Linked DNA regions of Homo sapiens: regions 2, 3 and 4 are each linked to region 1. The links are contacts of gene promoters, found by promoter capture Hi-C in blood cells and fetal thymus (Javierre and others, 2016). All regions are on one chromosome and are shown on one strand. Each heading gives the region's core, a stretch centred on a gene start or on the middle of the fragment in contact. The rest is flanking DNA. Distances are from core to core; before and after follow the strand shown. Region 1 holds the start of TAFA5 (TAFA chemokine like family member 5). Region 2 has its middle 280 kb from the start of LINC01644. Region 3 has its middle 260 kb from the start of LINC01644. Region 4 has its middle 49 kb from the start of LINC01644.

Region 1 (2,672 bases), core at 100-2,599:
CTGTGCTCTCATTTTGGCGACAGCGGAAGGATCAGATCGGACTGGGAGCTTGGAGGCCCGGGGCTCTGGAGGAGGTGGTGTCTGTGGAGGGAGGTTCGGTGCTGGCCTTTTTTTTTTTTTTTTGTAAAGAATCCATATTTTTCCATCACCTCCCGCGCCCATGGCAATTCTCCATGACAGGTGCTCCCCAGCACCCGTCCTATTCTCCCGCTGAAGACAAGAAGCCCGGAGCTCCCGGAGCTGAAGCCGACCAGCCCGCGCCATCTGGGGCCAGAGCCTGTGCCCGGGACGCTGAGCGGCCCCCACTTACCCCACCAGCCGCGAACGTGCCCCGGGATGCTGAGCACCCTCCCCAGCGCCGAGGCTGGAGTCTGCACCCGGGACTCCAACCACCCCTCATTCCACCCGCCTGGAGCCTCGGCAGGGGCACAGGCCACCCCCCACCCTTCACTCCAGGCAACAGGGAGCCCGCGGCGGTCACCCCCTACCCCAGCCCTCAGCTCACGCCCGGGCGCCCACTGGCCCGCACCACCCCAGCCCGCGCCCGCGCCAGTCCCGCCGGTCACCAGCTCGGGCCCCAGACACGACCCGAGAAACGTCCGCGGCCGCGGCGAGCCCCCTCCGGGCATCCCATCCCTCACTTCGCTTCTCTTTCCAGAAGGCGCCTGACGAGCCCGTTTCCCGGGAAAGCGGAAGCTCCAGCTGCTCCTCCGAGCCCAGGCTGGGCTCCTGCCTGAAGAGCTCCTCTCCGGGCTCGGCCGCCGCCTCCCCCCTTGTCCCGGGCTGAGGCACGGGGAGGGCGCTCCGCAGACACCCCGGCAGCGCCGCCCGCCCTCCGCGACCTGCGGCTGCCTCCTGAGCGCGCATCTCGGCCGGGAAGCCGCTGGCTGGGCTCCGACCGCCGGGCAGGGACGGGCCGCGCCACCCGGGGCCTGGAGCCCGGGCCCTGCCGGGGAGTCAGGGAAGGGAGGCTCGGGCCGGGGCGTCCGACCCCGAAGTGCTCGAGCGCCCGGAACCCGGGTGGACCCTCTCGCCCGCCCAGCGCAGCGTTGGACCGGCCGGGACTCGGGGGACCATGCGCCCGGCGCTCGTAACTCCGCGCCGACTCCGGGAGGCCCGCGGGGCGCCTGCCGGGGCCGGAGGAGGGGGTCCGGGGCCCAGAGGGCCGTGCCGGGGCCGGGGCCGCGCGGTACTCACTGCAGTAGGCGATGAGCAGGCTGGCCAGGATCATGAACGCCCAGAAAGTTGAGGACATGCTGGGCAGGGCGGTCGCATCTTGCCGGCTGCCGGTCCTGGGCGATGGCGCCATTGAAGCCGCGGCGCCCGCGCGGGGGGCAGCAGCGCGTCTCAGCAGCCGGCCCTGCCCGCGCCCCCGCGCCGGCCTCCACGTGCGGGCCCCGCGCGCGCCATCCTCCGCCGCCGCCGCCGCCGCGCCCGGGCCCCGGCCCACCGCGCCCCGCGCCGCGCCCGCGCCGCCCGCGCTCGCGCCCGCGCCCGCCGACCCCGCGCCGGCCCGCCAGGGGGACGCCGGCCCCGCTCTGGGCGTCACTGCGCGCCCCGGCTACGCGCGCCCCGGCATCCGCGAGAGAGGCGCGCGCCCGCCACCGCTGGGGGCTCCAGCCGCCCGCCGACCCGGGCCTGGCAGAGGGGACGCGGCGCCCAAGCCGCTCCTCCGGATGGCGACAGAGACGGCCTGACGCGCCCGCAGCCTGGGCCCCCCACGGGGAGGACGGCCGGGCCAGGTGAAGTTCGCGCACTTGGGCCTTCCGCGCCCCCATCCACCGCAGCCAGGGCCTGGAAGGCTGGGGAGGGGGCGGGGGCGGCAGACGCCTCCTAAGGTGGGTTCTGGGACTTGGATCCGGAGTTTATTCCAAGGAGAGGGTGCTCTGGGCCTGTTCCCTAGGTGTGCCCTGTTACCCAAAATCGGGCTTGTGCAGTGGGGTCCCTGAGTCCACTGGGAGCACAGCCTCAGACCCCAGCAGAGTCACCCTTCATCGGAAGCCCACCACCCTGAGGGCTCCTCCTCCACCTGGGGCGGCACTGCCAGGCACAGGCACGCACTTTCCCTCAGTCCTCTGCCCCACGATCACTCTACTCGGGCACCTCTGCCACTGCCTGGTCCTTGCTGAGCCATCTCCTGGTTCATCTCCCTGGAGTCCCTGCAGGACCGGCTCTCAGTGGCGTCTCCGGGCTCCCAGTCCCAGGACTGGTCCTATCCAGGTGGGTTTTCTGAGCAGGATGACAATGATCGCAATCTATTTTACCTGCATAGTCAACGATCATCTGCAAGACAGGTTCACTCCTATAACAAGCAAAGGATGGGGGGAAAATGAGCCTTGTAAGGACACAAGGACACTTTCCCCATCTCCAACCCTCCTAGTCATGTCCCCTCTGCACCTCCCTCTACAGCCCAGGAGATACGCTCCCCAGTCCAGGATGTCCAGATGGCCCTGCTGCCTGGAGAGGCTCTGGCCCCTGCCGGTAGCTGCCACAGCACCACCCCAAGCTCTGCCTTCCTGCAGGTTCGTGCACACGACTAATAGAACCCCTCCTCTGGAACTCACAAGATATTCTCCATCCTGCATAGGGCTGGGGGCTTGAGCACCCCAGGAGATTCTTTTGGCGCTGGAGACCCTTTTCTGAGGAGCCAGTAGAGGGCCTGCAAGTCAGAT
Region 2 (2,672 bases), core at 102-2,601, 1.3 Mb after region 1:
GACAGAGGGGAAGCCACAGTGCCTTTTCTGACCTGGCCTGGGAAGTTCCTCACTGCCACTTCTTCCATATTCTATGTGTGAAGAGAGTAGGAAATTAGCCTCTGTTTCTTGGAGGGAGGAATGGCAAAAGACTATGGTGGACGTTTTTTAAATCCACCACGTCATTGCTGGAAGAATGAGACCAGACCTCAAGGGAAGAAAACAAGGAAATTGTCTAGAAAAGCCCATGAAAGAGGCAGAAAATAACTGAAAGTGACTCGCAATTTTCTTTGCTACTTCCAGCCAAGAGCATTGTTCTCACCAGCCCAGCTGACTGACCCTTTAGGTGACAGAACCACATCACCCCAAACTTTTTCCCGGGCACAAAAGCATTCTGAGCTACATCCATGTGTGGGTCTTTGATACTAGAACCAGCACTTCCAAACCACCCGGAGTCCAACACCCATGATGCAGGGCAGGCAGGCCCACAATTGGGGCTTAGTCTGGGAGGGTCCTTGGCTTTACCCAGGAAAGAATTCAAGGGCGAGCTGGTGGTGTTAGACAGCAGTCTTTATTGAAGTGGTACCAGAGGTGCTGCTCCTTGCAGAGCAGGGCTATCCCATGGGCAGTGTGCCCAGAGCGGCAGTTCAAAGGCAGTGCTGCACCCACTTTTTTTTTTTTTTTTTTTTTTTTTTGTGAGACAGAGTCTTGCTCTGTCACCCAGGCTGAAGTGCAGCGGCACAATCTCGGCTCACTGCAACCTCCACCTCCCAGGTCCAAGCAATTCTCCTGCCTCAGCCTCCCGAGTAACTGGGATTACAGGCGCCCACCACCATGCCTGGCTAAGTTTTGTATTTTTACTAGAGACGGGGTTTCACCATGTTGGCCAGGCTGGTCTCGAATTCCCGACCTTAAGGTGATTTGCCTGCCTTGGCTTCCCAAAGTGCTGGGATTACAGGCGTGAGCCACTGTGCCTGGCCTGGACTCATATTTATACCCACTTTTAATTACATGTAAATTGAGGGGCACTTTATGCAGAAATTTCCAGGAAAAGGATGATAACTTCTGGGCTGTTGCCATGGAAAGGGGTGGTAACTTCCAGGAGTTGCCATGGCAATGGTAAACTGACATGGCACCGGTGGGTGTGTCTTATAGGAGGTGCTTTAGGCTCTTCCCTGTTTTAGCTAGTCTTCAATCTGGTCCAGAGTCCAAGCCCTGCCTCCTGCCTCCCGCCCTGGAGGGCACTTTCCTGCCACCTCTCCATTTTCCATTAAATAATGGAATAATTCAGTAATTCCATTGAATAATGGAAAATGATGAAAAGGACTGGAATATCCAGGCTGGAGTATCTTCCCAGGATTCTGAGGGAGGGACTGAAACCAAGCGAATTATAACATCTCCCCCCAAGAGTCACTCAGGGATCCTCCTGCAACAGGAGATGGTCACATTCCTTTAACTGTGGCCTCCAGCCTTGGGAGGTGTTATACGCCCATTTCACGGATGGAAAAATAGAGGCTCCAAAAGGCCTGGCAAGTTGTCCAAAGCCACACAACGTGGAGTGCAAGAGCCTGGCCGAGTTCGAGAGGCCCTGCCACCAGCCTGGGTTTCCACACCACCCACGTCCATCCCAGGCTTGCACAAACCACATCTGCCATGACCAGATGATGTCCACGGTAGGGACGGAGCCCGTGAATGCACAAACCCACACCAGGGGCTAAGCGCAGCTGTCCTGGGGGACCACAGCAGCCATGCTCTCCTCCCCGTCCCCTGCCTGCCATTGCACCACCGCCCACCACCTTGCAGACACTGCTGCAGAGGCCTGCCCCTGCCTAGAGATGGGCCATGGAGAGGGCACCTGGGCTGTGAGCACATTAGAGACAGGTGCCCACACCAAAACCCTGCAGAGCTCAGAGGGTCCCTGATCAGGGGAAGGCAGGGTCACGTCTGCCTTCCAGAAGTGTCCCTGAAGTGCCCAGGGAGGGAAAGTAGCCTCAGCAGGGAGGCTGGGGAAGGAGGGTGACATGGGGGAGCCTGGGAGGGAGGGTGACATCGGGGAGCCGGGGAGGAATGAAGAGGGGAAAGGACAAGTGGCCCTGCCACACAGGACCAAGCAGTGCGAGGAGACCCACAGGGCGGGGGCCCAGCCTTCAAGAGAGCCCAACAAAAGAACGGGGTGTGTGTTTGGGCCGAATGGGGCGAGTACCAGAGAGGGCTGCTCCAGGCTTGGGGGCTCCGTGATGTGTGAGCTTGGAGGTGGCCAGGAACGGAGGCCCCGTCAGGATGTCTCAGCTTCTGGGGGTGGCCGTGGGCTGAACAGGAAAGTATTTTGAGCGTCCCCACAACCCGGCAATGTTCACCAGCCCACTGGACACTCTGACCCCACCCCAGGCAGGCATCCCTCATCCCTCACCTGTGGCTCCCACTAGTAAGGAGGACCCAGCCACTCCCTCCACCTCTGCTCTCTCTCCGTCACCCCACATCTAACCCTGAGAGATCCCCTGCTCTCTCCGTCACCCCACATCTAACCCTGAGAGATCCCCTGCTCTCTCTAGCTCACCCCACATCTAACCCTGAGAGATCACCTGCTCTCTCTCCGTCACCCCACATCTAACCCTGACCGATCACCTGCTCTCTCTCCGTAAACCCACATCTAACCTGCCACCTGAGGGCTCGCTGCTCTAGTGTCCAGCCCG
Region 3 (2,672 bases), core at 116-2,615, 1.3 Mb after region 1:
CAGCCCCCGGTGGGTCTGTCGATACCAGAGCTGTCATCGTGCCCCAGGAGAAGCTGCCATCCAGCATGTGTGCCCGAGTTCTGGGTCGATGATCTTTGCTATAGCAACCAAGCATTTTGAATGGAAATGCACACTGAGTAATTGAAGGCTATTTTTTCTCTCTGCTAAAGCAAGAGAAATCCCATGTTGGCTGTCATTTATATGCAGGGTGCTCCAATCCTGTAAAGGAAGACCATGTTCCGAGAGAAAAACATTCCGAGGCAGAAGGGAACGGCACAAGCTGTGGGCCTGCCCTGCCAAGCTGGGGGCAATTCCTTCACACATATCATGCTGTTTAACTCCCACAACAGCCCTGTGAGGTGGGGACACCAAACCCCATTGCATATGCAAGGGACAGGAGAAGAGATGAAACCCACCCCTCATGGGCAGCAACTAAACAGTGGGATGGGATTCTGACCCCAAAGGTGTGATCCCACGCCATGTCTTATCTGCCTTGACTGCCGGGTTTCCCTCCCGTGAACTCCTCCTGACCTTCTCCTCTGCCCCCATTGGCCTCTCCACCTGGAGAACAGAGGATTTCCCTAAGGAGACACGTGAAGGTTAACAGCACAGGCCTCTAGGGGAGAAGAGCCCTGGCTGGAGTCCTGGCTTTACCTCTTTCCATCTAGGAGATGGGGGACACATTTCATCGTCTATCTGGAATCTTCATTTTCTTAGCTCCACAAAGATAGTGGAGCATGACCTTCTGGGGTTGTTGAGAGGATTAACGAGGTAAAAGCCCTGGCCCGTGGATGGCACTGGCAGGGACTCAGGAGGAGGTGGCATTGTAATCATCACAGCGCAGCTCTCTCTGGTTGGCACAGTGTGCTCTGAAGGCTCTCCCTTCTCCCTCCTGGCATCTTTCGTCTCCCAGTTGGGTTTCAGAATCCGTGACTGTGAAGACATGGCCTCTCATTTCTTTGCAGCTGCAGAGAAAGCTCCAACACGAAGCTGAGACAAGGAGTGAGGCCCCCAGAAGAATGGGGGTAGGAACAAGGAGAAGGGCTTGGGACCAGGCTTGACTAAGTCCTATAGCTTCGAGGGATGAAGATGGAGGTGACAGAGCTTGGTGGTTGGGGTAGTGGGAGAATCCAGGATGCTTAGTGTCATGGAAGCCAGGGGAGGAGGAGGCACCAAGATGGAGCATGTGTGCCAAGCCCTCAAGGATGCAAAAAGGCTGAGCAGTGAGAAGCCATGGGGAAGGAACTGGATTTGAAAATGGGGTGTGGGGGTTGGGGGCTGCTGGAGACCTCAGGGGAGCAGGGGTATGCAGGGCACAGAATATAGACCACTAAGCTGGGGAACCTTCAGTTACTGAGTGCAAGTTCCCAATGGGTGATAAGTTTCCTCCACGGTAACCCAGCCTGTTGTTATCCAGCTAATACTTGATTACCTCTGTTGATGGGCAATTCTCTCCTCCCAAGGACAATTGCCCTATTTGGGGACAGCTCTAAACAGTTCTTGGAAGGATTTTCCTTTTCCCTTAACTCAAGTCTGTTTCTCTTTATTGTCTTGTTTTGCAATAGTATTTTATTTTTTGAACATTTTCCAAGTGTTTAAATTTTGTCAAAAACATATAAAATCTAATATTTTATTCTAAAATTAATATTTATTTATAATGTTATTTATACTTAAAGATGAGTTGGTGGCTTAACAAGGAAGATCAAAAGACTTTCTCAATCCCCATCTGCACCATCAATGTCTAAAAATGCTAAAATGATGAAAGGGAGGAATCTACTCCAAGGAAACTGGGTGAAACTGTAAGTAAAAAACAAAAATATGACAAGAGCTATTTCCTTGGCTTTATAGATGTTGATATTTGCTTTATTGTGTCTTATGCAACAGAACATTTTCAAAGAGTATTATGCTCTCAGTTAAGTAGCGGCAGCACTTTGAGAGCAATCTTTCAGAGTTTAAAGAAAAAACGAATGAAATATTTTAAACATGGATGTGATGAGAGCTTTAGAAGCCAAAAATTGTTTGTTGCAGCTTTTCAAAGCAGAAATGAAAAAGCCAATGAAGCATCTTACAGAGTCGCCGCATCGCACTGGCTGGAGAAGCCTGTACAACAACCAAGAGAAGAGTATAGCCATGAACGTGGACATCGCTCATGGCTGCTGGCTGAAAAGTCAATGGAAGAAATCACAGCATTGCCACTTCCCAATGATATGGTAACTCACTGAATAAATACTGAGCTGCAAACATGAAGATCGAGTTAATATTTTGTTGGCAGAATTGTGCTTTTTCCTTACAAATGGAAGACTCTAGACATAGCTAGAGTTGCTATGTACTTGCATCGGTCTGGCATCAGCACTAACTTATCACCAAAGAAGGTCTTTTCTGTGACTTCTTGACAGCAAACACAAGTGATGTTGAAATATTCAGGCTGTGGAATGGCTTTTAAAATCTCATGATTTATTCTGGAACACTGTGCTGACATTTACATTGACGGTGTCAGAGCAATGCCCGGTGAAACTGGCCCAACACTTACACAACGAAGGCAGAGACAGCAAGCCACACTGGCAGTCACGGCGCTCATCATGGCCACATGCTTGTCCAAAAGAGGAAAAAATATGTCCTTGATGACAGTAAAAATTATTAATTTTGTTAAACTGCAGTGCTTGAATACACAA
Region 4 (2,672 bases), core at 99-2,598, 1.1 Mb after region 1:
TGAAACCCTGTCTCTACTAAAAATACAAAAAATTAGCCAGGTGTGGTGTCACGTGCCTGTAATCCCAGCCACTCAGGAGGCTGAGGCAGGAGAATTGCTTGAACCCAGGAGGCAGAGGTTGTAGTGAGTCGAGATTGTGCCACTGCACTCCAGCTTGGGCGACAGAGTGAGACTCCATCTCAAAAAAAAAAAATCAAAATTAATTAAAAAAGACACAGGTAAGGATACAAAGCAGGTCTAACCCTCTTTGCACTTAATAAATGTTTATCAGAAGTGTAATTTTTATGACATGTCTTTTGGAAGAATAAGTGAAATGTGTTCTTAAAATATCTCAAAGTACAACCCCCTTCCCACCAAAAGGGGAAAAAACATAAGATTTAGTGGTGCATACAAACAGGTTATAAAATATGTTGACGTTTAAGTTAGCTGGGAATTAGGTAATTGATCATCAGGCAAATTGCTTTAAGTTTGCTGATTTTAGGTAAAGTGGTAGGCTCCCATCCTAACTATGCTGAATACCTTATTTTGAAAAGGAAAAAGAGAATTTGGAATGTAGAGGAATCTTGGATTGCGGGCATACTCAGATACATTTTGTGAAAGTTGTCAGAGTAAAAATGAAGTCACTTGGGTTTAAAGAAACCCTGACAGATAGAGCTGGGGAAGGCCATGCAGGGAGGGTTCTCACCCATAAATGCCGGATAACACAAACTATCACAAAAGACTGAGAAACACCCAACCTTGCACAAAGGCCATTGCAACCTTACACAAAACATACTTCTTCAAGACATCTGCCTAGCAACTGCATGTTCAGTCTTAGACTGGTCTCACCCTTGTCATTACTCTCTTAGCCAAGGATAACGATCTCAGAACAATTATACAATCCTCCTCACTTTTTCCTTAGAAAGCTTTGCCTTCCTTTACTTTTCTGAATATGTGCATCGCTTACTATGGAATGTGCATTCTCATTGCAATGCCCAATTCCTGAAGAAATATCATTTTATTTTAGAGAGCCTTTCTCTGTTTGTTATTTAGGTTGGCAATTTCCAGTGATAAGTGTTTTAAAAATCTAGAGCTTGAAAGAAAAGAAGATTGGAGACCTCCACTACTATGATATGGTAGATTAAAGATGGCTGCAAGTCTTTTGCTAGTCCTCCCATTTAGAGGAACAATTTATGCCCCCTTCCCCTTAAATCTGGGCGACCTCTGTGATACCTGACACTAAAATACAGCAGCCACCACACTATGCTGGTTTTCAGTCACAGTCCTTAAGAGGCTGGAATCTGTCACTTCTTGTGTCTTGGAATACTGGCTTTTGGCACCAAGCAACCATGTTGTGAGGAAGTACAATCAACCACGCAGAGGGACCCCTTATGGAGAAGAGCTGAGGCCCCAGTTGACAGTACCCACTGAGCTCCAGCACGGACTGAGCTGTCCTGGAAGTGGGTTCTCTAGCCCCATCAGGCTGCCCTTAGTGACTACATGGAACAGACATGAGCCATCCTTGCTGGGTCCTGCCCAAATTATGGACATGTAAGCAAGGGCAAAGTTTGTTAGTGGTATAAGCCACTAAGTTTTGTGGTGGTTTCTTAGGCAGCCACAATAGATAGTTGGAAAAACAGTGAAATGAGCTATGTGACAAATTCCTTTTCTGCTCCAAACACAATACATAAATGTGTTAAAACAACAAAAAAGACAAGTTATTTTTCTTTATTAATTTAATGTTAATTAAAATAATTTTCCAACATTTAAATTTTAATATTTAATTATGTACTATTTAATAAACAAAGCTTTTTTTAAAAAAAAAAAGTAAATAGCAGATTTAGAAGCAGTCCTGGGAAATCTCAGGTGCCAGTCAGTACAAGAGAACATGTGGGTTAGCAATGGGGAAATGAAACCCTGTGCTTCGGGAGTGCTAGAACAGACTTGTGACTTAAGGCTGTGTGTCAATGACTGCATTAGGTCTTGAGTGAAGATTGGAGGGTCCAATATTTAAAAGAGAGATAGATGTGGGCTCTCTGCAAAAAGCTTAGAGCAGGGAAGGATTGATCTGATTTATGAGAGGAAATAGTACAACTTTCCCCGAACCTTAGGAAACAGACAGGAAACAAGCTGCCTTGGGCAGAAACGGTTTCTCCCAGGTAGTGAGAACTCCAAGCCCAGACTGTGTGGACTCTAAATCTACACAGTGCTATGGTGGAAAACTCTGAAAGTAGAAATTAGGGCCCAAGTGGATTTAAAACCAGTGTATTAGTCCGTTTTGCATTGCTATAAAGGAATACCTGAGACTGGGTAATTTATAAAGCAAAGAGCTTTATTTGGCTCACAGCTCTGCAAGCTGTACAGGCATGGCACTAGCATCTGCTTGGCTTCTGGTGAGGCCTCAGGAAACTTTTACTCAAGGCAGAAGGTGAAGGAGGAGCAGTGGTGTCACATGGCAAAAGAGGGAGGAAGGGAGAGAGAGGAGGTGCCGGGCTCTTTAAAAAATGAGTTCTCATGTGAAATGATAGAATGAGAACTCACTAATCACCCAGGGGAGGGCAGCAAGCCATTCATGAGGGAATCTGCCCCCAGGACCCAAACACCTCCCATCAGGCCCACCTCCAACAATGGGGATGACATTTCAACATGAGATTTGAAGGGGACAGACATCCAAGCAATATCACTAATGAACA

Evidence for each region. Contacts are between HindIII fragments. The CHiCAGO score rates a contact against its expected background, and 5 or more counts as called.
Region 2: a fragment that was not itself captured here is called in contact with the fragment with the promoter of TAFA5 in region 1 in 3 of 17 cell types (endothelial precursors, naive B cells and total B cells); the score reaches 8.6 in endothelial precursors.
Region 3: a contact is called between a fragment that was not itself captured here and the fragment with the promoter of TAFA5 in region 1, in 2 of 17 cell types (total B cells and M2 macrophages). The highest score is 7.1, in total B cells.
Region 4: a contact is called between a fragment that was not itself captured here and the fragment with the promoter of TAFA5 in region 1, in 1 of 17 cell types (naive B cells). The highest score is 5.9, in naive B cells.

The regions. Positions count from the first base shown.
Region 1 is chr22:48,488,230-48,490,901 of GRCh38, reverse strand. TAFA5 (TAFA chemokine like family member 5) reads right to left here and starts at 1,349. Exons shown (of 4, transcript NM_001082967.3): 1 at 1,198-1,349. The coding sequence starts at 1,309. The HindIII fragment of the contact is 4,041 bases long and covers 1-2,672 here.
Region 2 is chr22:47,204,801-47,207,472 of GRCh38, reverse strand. No RefSeq gene overlaps it. Among named protein-coding and RNA genes, the nearest start is that of LINC01644, 280 kb to the left of the region's middle. The HindIII fragment of the contact is 4,357 bases long and covers 1-2,672 here.
Region 3 is chr22:47,230,202-47,232,873 of GRCh38, reverse strand. No RefSeq gene overlaps it. Among named protein-coding and RNA genes, the nearest start is that of LINC01644, 260 kb to the left of the region's middle. The HindIII fragment of the contact is 6,773 bases long and covers 1-2,672 here.
Region 4 is chr22:47,436,538-47,439,209 of GRCh38, reverse strand. No RefSeq gene overlaps it. Among named protein-coding and RNA genes, the nearest start is that of LINC01644, 49 kb to the left of the region's middle. The HindIII fragment of the contact is 882 bases long and covers 908-1,789 here.